Linked DNA regions of Homo sapiens: regions 1, 2, 3 and 5 are each linked to region 4. The links are contacts of gene promoters, found by promoter capture Hi-C in blood cells and fetal thymus (Javierre and others, 2016). All regions are on one chromosome and are shown on one strand. The core of a region is centred on a gene start or on the middle of the fragment in contact, and the rest is flanking DNA. Distances in the headings are between cores, read along the strand shown. Region 1 has its middle 170 kb from the start of LINC02181. Region 2 has its middle 26 kb from the start of LINC02181. Region 3 has its middle 9.3 kb from the start of LINC02181. Region 4 holds the start of FOXL1 (forkhead box L1). Region 5 has its middle 130 kb from the start of LINC02188.

What was found. The method cuts DNA at HindIII sites, captures the fragments that hold promoters and counts their contacts. A CHiCAGO score of 5 or more calls a contact.
Region 1: a fragment that was not itself captured here is called in contact with the fragment with the promoter of FOXL1 in region 4 in 1 of 17 cell types (endothelial precursors); the score reaches 8.1 in endothelial precursors.
Region 2: a fragment that was not itself captured here is called in contact with the fragment with the promoter of FOXL1 in region 4 in 3 of 17 cell types (erythroblasts, M1 macrophages and M0 macrophages); the score reaches 5.7 in erythroblasts.
Region 3: a fragment that was not itself captured here is called in contact with the fragment with the promoter of FOXL1 in region 4 in 7 of 17 cell types (M0 macrophages, M1 macrophages, M2 macrophages and 4 more); the score reaches 12.2 in M0 macrophages.
Region 5: a contact is called between a fragment that was not itself captured here and the fragment with the promoter of FOXL1 in region 4, in 1 of 17 cell types (endothelial precursors). The highest score is 7.7, in endothelial precursors.

What each region holds. Positions count from the first base shown.
Region 1 is chr16:86,888,827-86,892,368 of GRCh38, forward strand. No RefSeq gene overlaps it. Among named protein-coding and RNA genes, the nearest start is that of LINC02181, 170 kb to the right of the region's middle. The HindIII fragment of the contact is 1,667 bases long and covers 1,234-2,900 here.
Region 2 is chr16:87,030,335-87,033,542 of GRCh38, forward strand. No RefSeq gene overlaps it. Among named protein-coding and RNA genes, the nearest start is that of LINC02181, 26 kb to the right of the region's middle. The HindIII fragment of the contact is 4,197 bases long and covers 1-3,208 here.
Region 3 is chr16:87,046,967-87,050,072 of GRCh38, forward strand. No RefSeq gene overlaps it. Among named protein-coding and RNA genes, the nearest start is that of LINC02181, 9.3 kb to the right of the region's middle. The HindIII fragment of the contact is 1,058 bases long and covers 824-1,881 here.
Region 4 is chr16:86,577,210-86,580,497 of GRCh38, forward strand. FOXL1 (forkhead box L1) reads left to right here and starts at 1,340. Exons shown (of 1, transcript NM_005250.3): 1 at 1,340-3,288. The coding sequence starts at 1,515. The coding sequence ends at 2,552. RefSeq lists an enhancer at 2,200-2,821. The HindIII fragment of the contact is 3,987 bases long and covers 1,210-3,288 here.
Region 5 is chr16:86,850,301-86,853,619 of GRCh38, forward strand. No RefSeq gene overlaps it. Among named protein-coding and RNA genes, the nearest start is that of LINC02188, 130 kb to the left of the region's middle. RefSeq lists an enhancer at 62-562. The HindIII fragment of the contact is 1,818 bases long and covers 661-2,478 here.

The DNA.
Region 1 (3,542 bases), core at 817-3,316, 310 kb after region 4:
CTTGAGCATCTTTAGGGACAGCAAACCTTTATCTTCAGAAGCAGGTTTGGATTTTAAAATAGTCTTACAGAGCCAGCCCTGATGATTCATTGATATAACAAGCATGGCTTGCTTCCCCAGTAAATAAACGAAACCAATTTCACCATTTGATTCTGTAATCCCTGGGTGTATCTGAAAGTCTCCATTGTCAAAGACCAATCAAATATTGAGGGTGCCTTTGTGGACTGCGGTTTTCTATCTGTTTGTTTATTTAACAAGTGTCTGCTAATCTTTAGCAGGAGGCTGGGGATGGATGTAAGGATGGATGGATGAATGGATGGATGGATGGATGGATGAATGGATGGATGAATGGATGGATGGATGAATGAATGGATGGATGGATGGATGAATGGATGGATGGATGGATGAATGGATGGATGGATGAATGAATGGATGGATGAATGGATGGATGGATGGATGAATGGATGGATGAATGGATGGATGGATGAATGGATGGATGAATGAATGGATGGATGAATAGATGAATGAATGGATGGATGAATGGATGGATGGATGGATGGATGGATGGATGGATGGATGAATGGATGGATGAATGAATGGATGGATGAATGGATGGATGGATGGATGGATGGATGGATGGATGGATGGATGAATGAAAGGATGGATGAATGAATGGATGGATGAATGGATGGATGGATGGATGAATGGATGGATGGATGGATGAATGGATGGATGGATGGATGAATGAATGGATGGATGAATGAATGGATGGATGAATGGATGGATGGATGGATGGATGGATGGATGGATGAATGGATGGATGAATGGATGGATGGATGGATGGATGGATGGATGGATGAATGGATGAATGAATGGATGGATGGATGGATGGATGGATGGATGGAGAGACGGAGATAGAAATAGATAATAGAGATAGACAAATGATAGAGATGGATACATAGATGATATAGACAGATGATAGAGATAGATGATAGATTAGATAGATAGATAGATAGATAGATAGATTGATAGATAGATGTTAAATACATGATGCAAAACCACTTGATGTTATTAGGGACATTCATTATAATCAAAGAGCATCATAAGTCTAATGACTAAAGACTTACGATGTAAATTGTGTTAAGAGCTATTGAGGACAATAACCTCACTTAAGCTTAAATGAGTACAATTATTGTGTCAATTAAAAGAAGAAATTGAGTTAAAAACAAGCAAAGCTTTACCTGAGACTGCAAATGATAACTGAAACCTGGTCTTCTCATTGGCAAATTAAGTAGTCATTAGTAGATAAACTTAAGTTAGGGCACAGACATGTGGAGTTGGTCACCCTCACACGTGGACACATCCCACTGGTGAGGTCCTGAATCTCACACCTGAACGCAGTCAAAAGTTGGAGATGTGACTCTCCTACCAGTGCCCAGCCAACAGGTGAGATGGTGACTCATTTCTGGACCCAGTTCACAGGCGCTATGATGATTCTCATGCCTGGAACCAACCAATAGGCCAATTAAAACATCTTTAATTGCATGAATGTGAGAGTCTCTGCTCCCAACATATGACAGGGTGTCTGTGGGTTCAAATGATGACGCCTGCTATCCCGGATGCCAGCACTAGAACGTTGTCTTATGATCATCTGTACCCTCCTGCCTGTTGGGGGATCATGGACCCCTAGAGTCAGGGGTCACATCCTGTCCATCTCTATCCCAACACTGGCCATGAGAGGCCTTAGTCGATCCCAACAGGCCTGGGTCCAACCGCTCTCCAGTCTCCTAACTTCCCTAGACCTCATCTATTCCGATCAAAAGATAGGAACAACAATGTTTCTGGGAGAATTAATTGAACCCGTGTGTGTTTCACACTTGTATGGCACCTATGGGTGCAAACAGCTCAGTGTACATTAAGGAAATACCATTCTCCTCCTCCCCATCATCTCTAGCTTCTACTATGTACTTTCCATGTGTTGGAAACTAAGCGATTTTGTGAAAATCAAAATCCCACAGAGCCTCCCATGCACAGTGAGGGCACTATGATCCTTACTCCCTTTGTTCCAAGAAGCAGACGGAGGCACAGAGAGAGGAAGTTGCTAGAGGCTGACCCAGGCAGGAAGTGGCAGAGGCAGGATTTGAACCCAAGCATCTGGTCCCAGAGCCTGGGTTCTGAACCCTAGTAATGTGGGCCTCTCTGAATGTAGAATGCCTGTTGAAAACTAGTTGAAAACATGCCATTGGATGTACTTAGGCACAAAAATGTTATTTACACGCCTGAATAAAATTAGAAGATTTCACAGTTAATTTAGCACATTGGACCATTACGTTGGATAATTCGAATCAGCTATTCCATTTGATCTTTTCTCAAATTGGCTGATGCTATTATTACTATGGCTAAAAATGAAGAGGAAACCCTTCCTGTGCTGTCTCGTAGCCAAGTCAGCTAACGATTTTCTAATATCTGTCATTGTGAACTGGAAAATGTGTCCTAATCTCTGTGAAAGTTTCCAAGTAAGATCTTTATCACCAAACACACAGAAGGGATGGAGATAAACAGCCCAGTTCACCCCAAACGCCTTTTTCTGTTGTGTTTTGAGAACATGCATGATTTATTTCATTTGCAGTTGAGCATTTTGGGTGGCGGCTGTCCCTGTTTTCTGTTTTCCCTTTCCACGGCTTGGCATTTATTCTACGTGGGAGAAGCATGGGGTGCAGAGCGGTGGCACTGGGACTGCGTGCCGATCCCTGAGGCCTGTTCCCATGAGTAAACCAGCTCTTTTGGCCCTAGAGCCCAGCTTCCTGGGGAATATCCCAGAACAGTGACTGCAAGGTTCAATGGTGCACCAAAGTCAGGCACCTGCACAAGGAGGCCGTGGGCGGGTTCCCCCATCCTAAAGCTTTAGGAGACCATGGGTGGGTTCCCCGTCCTAAAGCTTCAGGAGGCTGTGGGCGGGTTCCCCATCCTAAAGCTTTAGGAGGTCGTGGGCGGGTTCCCCATCCTAATGCTTTAGGAGGCCGTGGGCGGGTTCCCCATCCTAATGCTTTAGGAGGCTATGGGCGGGTTCCCCCATCCTAAAGCTTTAGGAGGCCATGAGCGGGTTCCCCCATCCTAATGCTTCAGGAGGCCATGGGTGGGTTCCCCATCCTAAAGCTTTAGGCGTGAGGTGCTCGCTGGGAAGGGACCATGCACTCCCCCACCTTCAGGGCGGGCAATTTGAACCACTAGAGTGGAGATGTAGGACGGACAGCAATCCAGTTAGATTTAAAGTCTAAAAAGTTTCAAACATTCCATTTTATGATATTATATAATGTAAGGGAAAATAACTTTTCTCTGTATAACTTGAAAACACAGAGTAACATAGTGTTTTTGGCAGGTGGAGATTTTTAGGTGGGATCACAATGGTTAGTGAGGACATATTCTCCATAGCCCTTTGGGGGAGTGGATGTATAAATCACATATAATATGGGATGTATTTCTGCGTTTCTCAAAGGGGATATCTGTTTAAGAAGGTTAAGAAACATTTATTTGGAGAGTAA
Region 2 (3,208 bases), core at 183-2,682, 450 kb after region 4:
CAGGTTGCTGTAGCAAAATGCCTTAGACTGGGCCATTTATAAACAAAAGAAATGTATTGCTCACAGTTCTGGAGGCTGTGAAGTCCAAGATCAAGGTGTTGGCAGATTCAAGGTCTATTCCTCACAGACAGTGCCTTCTATGCATCCTCACAGGAAAAAGAGGCAAACAAACTCCCTCAGGCCTCTTTTTTTTTTTTTTTTTCAGACAGAGTCTCACCCAGGCTGGAGTGCAGTGGCACAATCTCAGCTCACTACAACCTTCACCTCCCGGGTTCAAACAATTCTCATGCCTCAGCCTCCTGAATAGCTGGGATTACAGGGGCATGCCACCACAGCTGGCTAATTTGTTTTTGTATTTTTAATGCAGACGGGGTTTCCCCATGTTGCCCAGGCTGGTCTTGAAGTCCTGGCCTCGAGCAGTCCTCCCACCTTGGCGTCCCAAAGTGCTGGGATTACAGGCATGAGCCACTGCACCCAGCCTCCCTCAGGCCGCTTTTATAAGGGCACTAATCCCATTCTTGAGGGCTCTGCCTCCATGACCACATCACCTCTTAAAAGCTCTTTCTTAATACAATTGCACTGGAGATTAGGTCTCAACATGAATTTAATGGGGGGCACAAACATTCAGACCATAGCAGATTCTGACTTAATGAATCTGGGGGGACCCAGACATCTGTATTTTTAAAAGTTCTTCTGATGTTTCTAATATGTAACCACAGTTGGGGAACATTAGATGAAAAAAATCACCTTGCAGATTTTGCTCCCTAATACCCAAGTAGGTTATCTTTTTCTTCCTCATTGCATTGGTTGGGCTGTTTCATTTTAAAAGGAAAAAACTCAATCCAACAGGCATATACCAAAGGAGGGGGTAGTGATGAGGACTCAGGGTGTCTGTGGAAGTCCAGGATGAGGCTGCAGCAGGAACTGGAAGGCCGTTGCCCACCCCAAATTACTGCTTCTGCATCCAGCCCTCTCTCTGCCTTCTCTGCTTCTCCATCCGCAGAGCCAAGAGGGGCAGTCTTCAGGACGCCCGTGTGCACATCTCCCCATGAAGACATCAGCGCAGCCTGGGTCCCACAGGAGGCTCTGATCATACTAGTGGGGGTGGGGTGACCTCCGGGACCAGTTAACTGAGGTCAAAGGGGTGGACCATAATATGGTTTGATGTCTGTGTCCCTGTCTACACTTTGCATCAAATGTCATCCTCATTGTTGGAGGTGGGGCCTGCGGGGAGGTGACTGGATCATGGGGGTGGTTTCTCTGGAATAATTTGGCACCATCCTCCTAGTCCTGTTCTCATGATAGAGTTCTCACGAGATCTGGTCGTTTACAAGCGTGTGGGGCCCTCCCCTCTCTCTCTTCCTCCTGCTCCAGCCATGTAAGATATATTTGCTTCCCCTTCGCCTTCCGCCATGATTGTAAGTTTCCAATTAAACCTCTTTTCTTTATAAGTTACCCAGCCTCAGGCATTATTATTATTAATTTTTTTTTTGAGACCGAGTTTTGCTCTTGTCGCCCAGGCTGGAGTTCAATGGTGCAATCTCGGCTCATTGCAACCTCCATCTCCCAAGTTCAAGCGATTCTCCTGCCTCGGCCTCCCAGGTAGCTGGGATTACAGGCACCCATCACCATGCCTGGCTAATTTTTTGTATTTGTAGTAGAGATGGGGTTTCGCCATGTTGGGCAGGCTGGTCTCCAACTCCTGACCTCAAGTGATCTGCCGCCCTCGGCCTCCCAAAGTGCTGGGATTACAGGTGTGAACCACCACACCCAGCCCAGGCATTTCTTTATAGCAGTTCAAGAACAGACTAATACAGACTTCTGTGGTACAAAAACAGCCTCCCAGGTACTGGTGACTGGTGTTAGAGAGCTGCTTGCAGTCTACCTCATCCCTCTCCCACCAGCTCACACCCCCACAATACTCTTTTTCTTCCAATTGTCATAATATTTTGCTGTATCTATTTACCATTAACCATACACTAGACAGCCTTTCCTTTTCTCCTTTTAATAAACTCACTTTTTAAACTTGAATGTGGCCATTTTGTAGGCAGTGGCACCTGTGAAGTCGAGGGTTGCAATGTGTTCGAAATGTTTCAATAATGCATATTTGCATATGCCAGGCCATATTAGAGCTGGAGGCAGAAGGGAAAACATCAATAATATGGATGCTACCTCTGTTCAAAATTTCAGTATTTTGTTCATCGGGAATATTTTTGCATTTTGATTGTTTTACATTGGATTAAATTATTATGTATCTCAATGATTATGGGGGTTTTTAATGTCCTCTTAAATTTTCACCCAAGGCAAGCATCTTACCTGCCCTACTTCAGTTCCAGTCCTGCAGAATTATTTAAGTGGAAGCTCGAAATAATCATGCCCGTGTCACCTGAGACCTCTTGAGTCCCACACTTTGGAAACACTCACTTCACCTGCCTAAAATAGAATCAGTGAAGCAGAGGACGCCTTTCATGTCTGCTGGTGCAAATCCCTCTCTCCCAAGTGAGGAAACTGAGGCCCAGCGAGGTCGCAGTGACAGGCCCCAGCCCCACAGCCGTTTGATGACAACTTCACATCGGAGCCCAGTTCAGTCCGGACACTTTGCCTGCACCTGATTCTTCTGTCGCTTCATTAATCTTATGAATAAGGGAAGAAAAAAGTAAGGGCTATGGCCTCAGCTTTCCATAACTTTGCTTTATTTCTGGAGTGAGCAATCCAGCCCCGGCCGAAGGAATCATAAATCCCTCTGGGAAAGAGCCCTGGAACTCCTGAGCCCACGCCAGGGCGGCCCCGGGGGGCACAGGGCTGGCCAGGGAGAGATCGCCCTGCATGCCACTTCCACCACCCAAGCCAGGACCCGACATTTTTAGGCAGTGACATCAGAGTGGAGTGAACAGAGACCACCCTTGAAAGGAAAAACAAGTCACAAAAAGGCAGGCGGGGGATGGTAAAAGGGACCGGGCGGGCCCTCTCCTTTGCCTTGGCGAACACGATAAATTCAAGAGTAAAAATAATCTCGAGTTACATAAGGGAGTTGCATTTTAATCCCATCACGGGGTGCCAGCCCTGAGGCCAACAGTAAACGTGTCATCCCCTGTGAGCCCCACAGCAGCCCATGGGGGGAAGGTGCTATTTTATTCCCATTTTACACAAGAGAAGACCAAGGCTCAGAGAGGTTAAGTGGCTTCTCTGCAGTCTTTCACTCAGTAGA
Region 3 (3,106 bases), core at 103-2,602, 470 kb after region 4:
AGGAATTTATCAGGAACAAAATTCAGCCTATAATGAGTAAACAGAGACAGTACCTGTTGAGACGTGCGTCCATGGGTGGACTGCTGAGAACGCGGATTCTCACCCTCAGCGTATTCCCTCAGCCAAGCACAGCGAGGTAAGGTCATTTATAGTTAGCTGGCTTTTGACAATCACAAAGCCAGTGCCCCTCATCTGGGCTTCACCTCCAAGCCTGCGCGTCCCTCTCCCCTCCTGGCTCTGCGAGGGTTAATCGGAAGGTCTCTGGAGTTGGGTGGACTTACTGCTCCAGACCTTTACCATCTCACCCTGACTGCAGGGCTCACATTTCTCACTTAATTACTTGCCCTGCAATCAGAAGAGATAGCCCGTTTCTGTGTTGAGTTGGCTGCAGCTGTGAACTGTTTATTTACTTTTCCTCAGCCCGGGAATGGCTGTAATTTAAAGGTTCAGATCTCAGCTACCCTGCCTGGTGCAAACCCTGCTTAAGCACTTCCATATTGCTGGGGTGGAATGTTGCTGGAAGCTGCCCCCGCTGCCCACCTCCCTTCCCTGGACAGGAGAGCTGAAAAGGCAGGTGTTCCTGGTTATCAAGCCTGCCCATCCAAGGAGCTGGGCAGAGAACCTGTAAGCCACAAACAGCGGCTAGGACTGTGAGCTGCTAGGATCGGGACTGCCCCAAGCCACCCTCCTGCAGAAAAAAAAGTGGTCCCTGCCACAGTTCAAGCCCCAGCTCTCACTAATTCCTGTGCCAAATGGTGTAATTACCACTTAAGTTGTCAAATGGCAACCAGATGGCCTTACCTTTCACACCGGCAGCTTAATAAGCTTTTAGGCATGACCTCTGCCGCTTGTCCTCCACCTGCACAGGCCCCGATTTGTGAAATCCGAGCCCACAATTAGATCTGATAATGAGAGCTGAGGTGCGCCCAGCCTTGAACTCCGCAAGCTCGCTGCAAGGGGTGCCCAGCAAGTCACCCCATGCCACTGACAAATGACATGCGTCCCACCCCAAACAGAGGGGCCCTGCACACAGGCCCCTGGGGCCTGCCTAGGGAGATCACAGGCCCAGAGGCCCTGAGACCCAAGTGCATTTGGGGGGCCAGACAGTTCTGCAAGCTCAAAGCATGCTGTTTCTGGAAACAGCAAGCTAGAGGCTCAGACCCCATCATGTCCCCCTACAGCTTTGTCCGCGGCCTGCCTGCCCCGGGGCAGCCCCCCGGGAGGCACTGTTTCTCCATCAGCACAAACAGGGGGGCACCCCACATGGGGATCAACCTGCTGCCAAAAACCCGTATGTGACTGTCTGTCAATTCACCCCTTTGAGTTTCCGTGAGCTGGAGTTACTATAGTGAGGCTTTCAGCACACGGCAGAGTGGTCTCGCACTGCAACGGATCACAGTCCAGTGTCTGTTTTGAAAATCACATTGTTCTTTCCAGGGATGGGGACAAACCCCTCCAATAGTTATGGAAGTCACATGTACCAGGAACCATTTCCAGCACTTCACACATACTCACTTATTAATCCTCACAATAACCTAAGCACTGTTTTTCTCCCCCATTTATAGAAAACTGTGGCACAGAGAGGTTAACTAACTTACCCAAAGTCACACAGCTGGCCAGTAGTGGGAATGGGATTTGAAACTAAGTGAGGAAGCAGACACTCTGAATGTATACAACCAAGATTCCATTGGATTTTTAAAAACAATTTGATAAAAACTTTATTAATACACAGTAGACATGTTGTACCTACTAAGCCAAGCTAAAGGTTTGTGTAAGGGCTTGGAAAAGTCCAAATATTTTAAGAAGAGCCCAGGCACTGATACTTCTCATGCTCTGACAAACCTGTGAAAATGGGCAGGTACAAAAGAGCAGCACATCAGAAGCTTCCTCTGCCCTGGGTTGGAGCAGAAGGAAACCAAGGAGAGACGAACACTGAGCGCCTGGCCGGGGACGGAAGTTTCCATGGAAGCCTCTCGTCCCCAATCTTTGCCAAGAGGATTCTAGTAACAGCAGCTCCCACAGCAGAGAGTGATGGGGAGGCCAAGACCCCAGAGAGAAACTGACAAATATACTTATTCCGACTCTGCGTTACATTTGACTCTTTTTAGAGGTCAGTATTCCCTTCTCCCGACCTGCACAGGGACCTTGGGTTTTAGGGTGTCTCATCTCGTGTTGTCATTGAAAACTTGCCCTTAAGATTGTGTCCCATTCTTGCTAAGGTGCAAATGACTGATACTGAGGAAGAGGAGATTGCACTTCATGTTACCACCTTCAGATCCATTTGGCTTTTCAAACAAGAGGCTCGGAGAAGACCTATATTAGTCTGTTTTCACGCTGCTGATAAAGACATACCCGAGACTGGGTCATTTACAAAGAAAAAGAGGTCTAATGGCTCACAGTTCCACGTGGCTGGGGAGAGGTCTAATGGCTCACAGTTCCACGTGGCTGGGGAGAGGTCTAATGGCTCACAGTTCCACGTGGCTGGGGAGAGGTCTAATGGCTCACAGTTCCACGTGGCTGGGGAGGTTTCACAATCTTGGCAAAAAGTGAAAAGAGTGTCTTACATGGTGGCAGACAAGAGAGAATCAGAGAACCAAGCAAAAGGGGTTTCCCCTTATAAAGCCATCAGATCTCATGAGACTTATTCAGTACCATGAGAACAGTATGGGGGAAACCACCCCCATGATTCAGTTATCTCCCACCTGGTCCCTCCCACAACACAAGGGAATTATGGGAGCTACGATTCAAGGTGAGATTTGGGTGAGGACACAGCAAAACCATATCAAGACCCAAGATCAACATGATGATCCAATATTATCATTTTTACCAAAATAAGAGTGGGGGAAGAGGAAGCAATGGCTTTCAACAATAAATGTGTATATAGTCAGGAATATGGAACAAATGGGCTCAGACTTTTCACATAAAGAAATGCCCAAACGCTGGTGCTTGGGCAGGTTTTGGTCTATGGCCCACACTCCTGGAAAGGGGATCCTCCTCTGTTAGAAGTTCTTTGACAGGAAATATAGAAGAACAAGGCCTTAAATTACACAAGTGGTGCCATCATCAGCGAGTGACCAATTTATCTACGCATGAACTAGGGCTTTCC
Region 4 (3,288 bases), core at 90-2,589:
CGCCAGTTATCCGAATGTGTGTGTGTGTGTGTGGGTGTGTGTGTGACAGTGTGTGTGTGTTTTAATATTCAGGGGGTGGTCATAAACAGGAAGTAGTCACACTAGGTGCCTCTACCCTTACCCTAACCGGTGGAGTGGGGAGGAGAGGCCCCCTTCGAAATCAGCATGATTCAGGATTTTTTATTCAAACAGTGATGTGGGAAAATGTAAAATGAGATGGGGGTGGAGGGCCGCGTACACCCCAGGGTGGGTGGATACAGGGAGAGCAAGCAGGCTTCCCAAATGCCTAATGTAATCACGGGCCAGCTGCATGCACTTGTAAAGTTGTTATAACCCCCTCCTTGTTATAAACAGGAAAGCCCAGAATATAAAGCTGGAGACCCACATTCACAAATACCAGGCCTCCCGCGCCAGCTGCCACGGCCTCCTTTTATGGTGTTCCTCTCTTGCAACCTTGGCCCCATCAGGAGGACCTTACTTTTGCCCCCGGTTCTCTAAATGGGTTTATTTTGAAACCTTCCTCAATGGAGCTGTGGACCATGAGCTCTTCCCCAGGCCCCCAGTGCCTTAGGCCTTCCCTTCCAGAGAGACTGGGCTCCCAGAGTCCACTTTCCCTCCGATTTCCGGAGAGCCCTGGAAGGGAGGGTGTGGGAGAGCAGGTCCCTAGAGAGTGCCACCTCCTACTGGGTCTGCCACCTGTTTTTCCAGGGAGGGCCGCATCCCCTTCTCAGCAGACACTCAGGCTTCTTAGATACTCTCCCTGCCCCAATCTAAAAGGTTCCTAGGACCTCAGAAAGTGTTTTACTAGACTGTGGCATCTCGATATCTCCGGTTAAGCCTGGGAGAAGAAAAGACCTTTTGTGGGAGGCCCTGGCGTTATGGGGCTCCCCCAGGCCAGCGTAAAACTCATCCCTGCACACCCACCCCCATCTCCACCTCTCCTTCCTGGCTCAGCAGACCCTGCTCTGAGCCACCGCAGTCTACATCCTGCCTCACTGACTGTGTGTGCTTACAGCGTCAAGGGGTGGACGTGATATTTCAAACATCAGATCAGTGCGTTTATATATTGGGTGCCCGGAAATTTTTCCAAATAAACACAGCTTGATTCAACTTGGGTGGGCGGACTTATCAACAGACTAATTCTATAAACAAATGAAGGAATAGCCCCAAAACCGATTGGCTGGTATCAAAAAGACACGTGGAGGGAAAAGCTTGGAGTTTTTCAGCAATGAAATTTTAATTAATGTGGGTGGGCTGAGAACACAAGGACTGTTTATCATAGACAATTTATTTTCCAGGGCTAAGTCAACATATAACAGCAAACTTACAACAATTATTTAACATTTTTAAAGCCATGAAGAAGGGACAGAGCACGGAGCGGCCGGGGAGAGCGGCAGAGCCAGAGGCAGAGGCACGGCTGGCTCCCCGGGAGGGCCCTTGCGGCGCGGGGCGCAGTGCCTAGGCCGCCCGGGTCTCCTGCGTTGCGGGGAGCGCAGCGCAGGCTCTCGCTTGCCATGAGTCACCTCTTCGATCCCCGGCTGCCTGCCCTGGCCGCCTCGCCCATGCTGTATCTGTACGGTCCCGAGAGACCCGGCCTCCCTCTGGCCTTCGCCCCCGCGGCTGCTCTAGCTGCCTCGGGCCGGGCCGAGACCCCGCAGAAGCCTCCCTACAGCTACATCGCGCTCATCGCCATGGCGATCCAGGACGCGCCCGAGCAGAGGGTCACGCTCAACGGCATCTACCAGTTCATCATGGACCGCTTCCCCTTCTACCACGACAACCGGCAGGGCTGGCAGAACAGCATCCGCCACAACCTCTCGCTCAACGACTGCTTCGTCAAGGTGCCCCGCGAGAAAGGGCGGCCGGGCAAGGGCAGCTACTGGACGCTGGACCCCCGCTGCCTGGACATGTTTGAGAACGGCAACTACCGGCGCCGGAAGAGGAAGCCCAAGCCGGGCCCCGGGGCCCCGGAGGCCAAGAGGCCCCGCGCCGAGACGCACCAGCGCAGCGCGGAGGCGCAGCCGGAGGCGGGGAGCGGGGCAGGGGGCTCGGGCCCCGCAATCTCCCGCCTGCAGGCAGCGCCCGCGGGCCCCTCGCCCCTCCTGGACGGCCCCTCTCCGCCGGCGCCCCTCCACTGGCCGGGGACCGCGTCCCCGAACGAGGACGCTGGTGACGCTGCCCAGGGCGCAGCGGCCGTGGCGGTCGGCCAGGCAGCGCGCACAGGGGACGGCCCGGGGTCCCCTCTGCGCCCCGCCTCCCGCAGCTCTCCGAAGAGCTCCGACAAGTCCAAGAGCTTCAGCATAGACAGCATCCTGGCGGGAAAGCAGGGCCAGAAGCCGCCTTCAGGGGACGAACTCCTAGGGGGTGCCAAGCCTGGGCCCGGCGGCCGTCTGGGTGCCTCGCTCCTGGCCGCCTCCTCCAGCCTCCGTCCGCCTTTCAACGCTTCCCTGATGCTCGACCCGCATGTCCAGGGCGGCTTTTACCAGCTCGGGATCCCCTTCCTCTCTTATTTCCCCCTGCAGGTTCCCGACACGGTACTCCACTTCCAGTAAAGCAAACAATGGCACGGTTCTTCTCCCGGCCCAGCCTGAGCCTCCGCTGAGCGAAAGGCCACAGCTCCCACCGGCGGAGGATTTTAAAATGATCTTTGCCTGGGTCGGCCTGTGGGTTCAGGGAAGTGTTACCAACCATTGCGCGCAGGTGGGCGCGCTCGCCTGCCTTCTCCGAAGCAAACTTTTCCCAGCAACTGGGAGCAGCTACGGAGACTTAAAAGATCCCCGCGGGGTCGTGGGCACCGCACGTGGGCCCTGCAGGGACCTCCACCGCGGGAGATTCCTTGACGTTTGACCTGTCTAATGGAGTGTGGTCTTCAGCCGCCCACCGCAGGTCCTGCGAGTCCCGGGCATGCAAGGGCCCGCAGACCACCCAAGGCAGGCCTTACAGGTGCAGTTGAGGTCCTTTCGACCGGGGACCCCCGTATGACCGTCGCCTGCTTCGCTGTTGCCGTGTGGCTCAGGCCTTGGTTTTGAGCCCATCTGGGTGGTGGGTGGTCACAGCTGGGTTTGTTCCTGACTTGAAGTTGTGGAGGTGCCGGGGGTGACCCCGGGTTTTCAGGTTTTCTGAGAGATGTAGGGCCCGATGAGGATTTATGACCAATGTTCAGCTATAGAAGCTGATAACCACCCAGAGCAATAACACTTTTATTTTAAACAGAGACTTTTTCTCTTAATTTCTTTCTGGGTAGTAAAAAGAACATGTTTCATTCTTTGCATAAATACTTGACTCTAA
Region 5 (3,319 bases), core at 320-2,819, 270 kb after region 4:
TTAGGGCCTGGCTGCTCATCACACACTCATTCTTGGGGGTCTCCTGGGCCTTCCGTCTTTTGGGCCTCTTGGAATGCAGTTATGGTTGCCCATGACCCTGTTTCAAAGACTCTTTGGTCTGGTCAATGTCCACCCTCCACTGACACTCAGGAGCAGAGGAGCCCTGGAGCTCCCCCAACCCTCATTCTCCTTGCCAGTGTCTCCCCTGCGCCATCCCGCCTCAGAAAGGGACCTTGGAAAGTCATCTTCCTCCTGGGACGCCCGGCCCATCATCACCAACAGACAGCATAGACAACAGAGTTGCCACTTGAGACTCTGCGTCAACTTCTAGCTCTACCTCTGGGGCCAGAGAACTGCCAAGTCTTCTAACCAACATACATTTGGTGATCAGAAAACACCCTGTGGTGAGAGGGGGTGGGGATCAGCAGCACAGAGGGACCTCAACTTGTGCACATTTAAGCAAACACATGAGCTTTCCAGCTGCTGAGCCGGCAGTGTGATCACGCCCCATTCCACTTTTCTTCCATCAGCAAAACAATGCCAGGCCTGAAGGGAAATGGAGAGCTGTCCTGCCCAGGACGACAGCAGCCCCTGCTCAGTTTCCTGTTGTTCTCGCGATGGCGACCGCAGCCAAGTGGCCCCTTCGGATGCTCTGGGGGAAGCTTGCTTTGGGCTCCGCCAACTGCCTGAAAAGCACTCGCTCCGTATGGCACCTGCAGAGCCTTGTCATCGGAGAATTTTCTTTGGCCTCAGCCTTAGTGGGTGGGTCAGCATCTGCCTGTGGGGAAGAAGAATTTATTTTCTAAATTCTAGATTTACGAAAGAAAACATTTTGCCTTCAAAGCCACTGGTGAGCCCTATTGGGTACAGGGTGTGTTGAATTTCATCCACGTCTTACCATCTCAGGACCAAAAGAGAGGACCAAAGTTGTAAAAATAACCACATCACAGGCTGGAAAAGCCCATAAGAGAGAAACAAGGTCAGTGGTTTTTGAACTCGGTTCCAAGAAACCTAAAGGTGCCTCAAAAAGCGCATGGGGAGAGGGGACTGTGGGGTCTACTGAATATTAGCAGGGTGACTTTGGACAAATGAATTCCCTTCTGGAAACCTCACTTTCCTCATCTGTGAAATGGAGGTCATGTGCCTACCTTCCCTATGTCATAGAGTTATTGAGAGGATGAAATGGGACAGTTCTAGGCACCTGGTGACAGCTCGATGCACTTGGACCTAGTTTCAACCTGCAGGATGATTTGGCGGAAAGGACAAAGGGCATTTCAGGACAAAGGCTGGCAAAGCAAAGGCCAGCTGGCAGGTGTGTGTGCCATGTGTGGGGAAGGAGGAGCCGACCCCAAGTGGCTGGGCAGGGGGTGCTCCTTAGCTTCCAAGTGCTGGCCTCTCTCACTGACCCCCTCAGCTAAGCCTCCGTTCCAGGACACACGGACTTCTCTTTCCATCTGCCTCAGGGCATTTCCTTCCTGGACCCAAACTGATCAGAGACAGACAATGAGCTTCTTTATAACATCTTCCACAATTTAGGGTGAGGACATATAGAAAAGAAGTGGTCTTGCTGCTGGAAATGTTCGCAAACCCTTGTGACTACAGATTAACTTACTTCATTAGTTCTAGTAATGGTCATGGTAATAAAAAAGAAAAAACTTATCACCATTATCATCATCATTACTGCCAACATCGTCATCATCACCATCATCATCACCACCATCATCACCACCATAACCATCATCACTGTCACCATCACTATCACCATCACCATCATCATCACCATCACCATCATCACCATCATCACCATCACCATCATCACCACCATCACTGTCACCATCACTATCACCATCACCATCATCACCACCATCACTGTCACCATCACTATCACTATCACCATCATCACCACCATCACCATCATCACCACCATGATCACCACCATCAACATCATCACTGTCACCATCACTATCACCATCACCATCATCACCACCATCACCATCACCATCATCATCACCATCACCATCATCACTGTCACCATCACTATCACATCACCATCATCACCAACATCACCATCACCATCATCACCATCACCATCATCAACATCATCACCATCATCATTACCGTCATCACCATCATCATCATAACCATCATCACCATCACCATCACCATCACCATCAACACCATCACCATCACTATCGTCATCACCATCACCAACATCATCATCACTGCCAAGGAGAAGCAAGGCCATTGGATGGTTGTGGACAGTAATTTCCCCAAATAGATTTAGTGAGCAGGATACAGACTGCTAACACCAACATGGGTTGAGTCAGGCTAGTGATGTGTCACAGAATGAGACAGTGAAAGCCCCTGCCCTCAGGCAGCTAATGTTTCCAGGGGAGGAAGGAACTTGATCCATGCGCATTAGCTTGGTACTTTCACTGTGGGGCCAGTGGAAGTGAAGGGATGAAGTTGGAAGATAGAAGCTTGGCATTGTTTTGGCTTCAGCATCTCCAAGAATCGCAGATGAGCTTGATCTCACTGACTTCCAGCACTGGGATGACAGCCTGTGTTCAGAAGAAATGTGAAGCTGCCTTCAGACTGTGTGCTTGAGACTTGCCTGACCTGGGCCTGGAGAAAGGAAGCGTAGCCAGAGTGTAGATGGAGGTCCCAACTCTAACCCACCCCCAGAGCTCACAATATTTGCAAAATTATTTCAAAAATCTTTGTGTAAAAGCTCACACCTATAATCCCAGCACTTTGGGAGGCCGAGGCGGGCAGATCACGAGGTCAACAGATCGAGACCATCCTGGCCAACATGGTGAAACCCCGTCTCTATTAAAAATACAAAAATTACCTGGTCATGGTGGCACGCACCTGTAGTCCCAGCTACTTGGGACGTTGAGGCAGGAGAATCGCTTGAACCCAGGAGGCAGAGGTTGCAGTGAGCCAAGATCGCGCCACTGCATTCCAGCCTGGTGACAGAGCGAGACTCCATCTCAAAAAATAAAAAATAAACTTAAAAAATTAACTGAAATGTTAAGTATTGAACAAGGTGCATATCACACAATCCTATAGGGAGAGGAAGAGGTAGGATGTTGTCAGGCACTAAAAATGTCCTGCAGGCCCTCCTAACACATCACGATTTTCCAAAGGGTGGACCCACTGGACTGATTAGAGACAGGAAGAGGCATGGGGGTGGCAAATGTATATGTTCCATTTCTAGAATTCAGAGGCCAGTTTCCTTGTTTAGGGGGGCAAAAGTGTTTAAAATAGATAAATCACAAAGGAAAAATGAAAATTGTTCAATTTTGTTGTCAAGGTT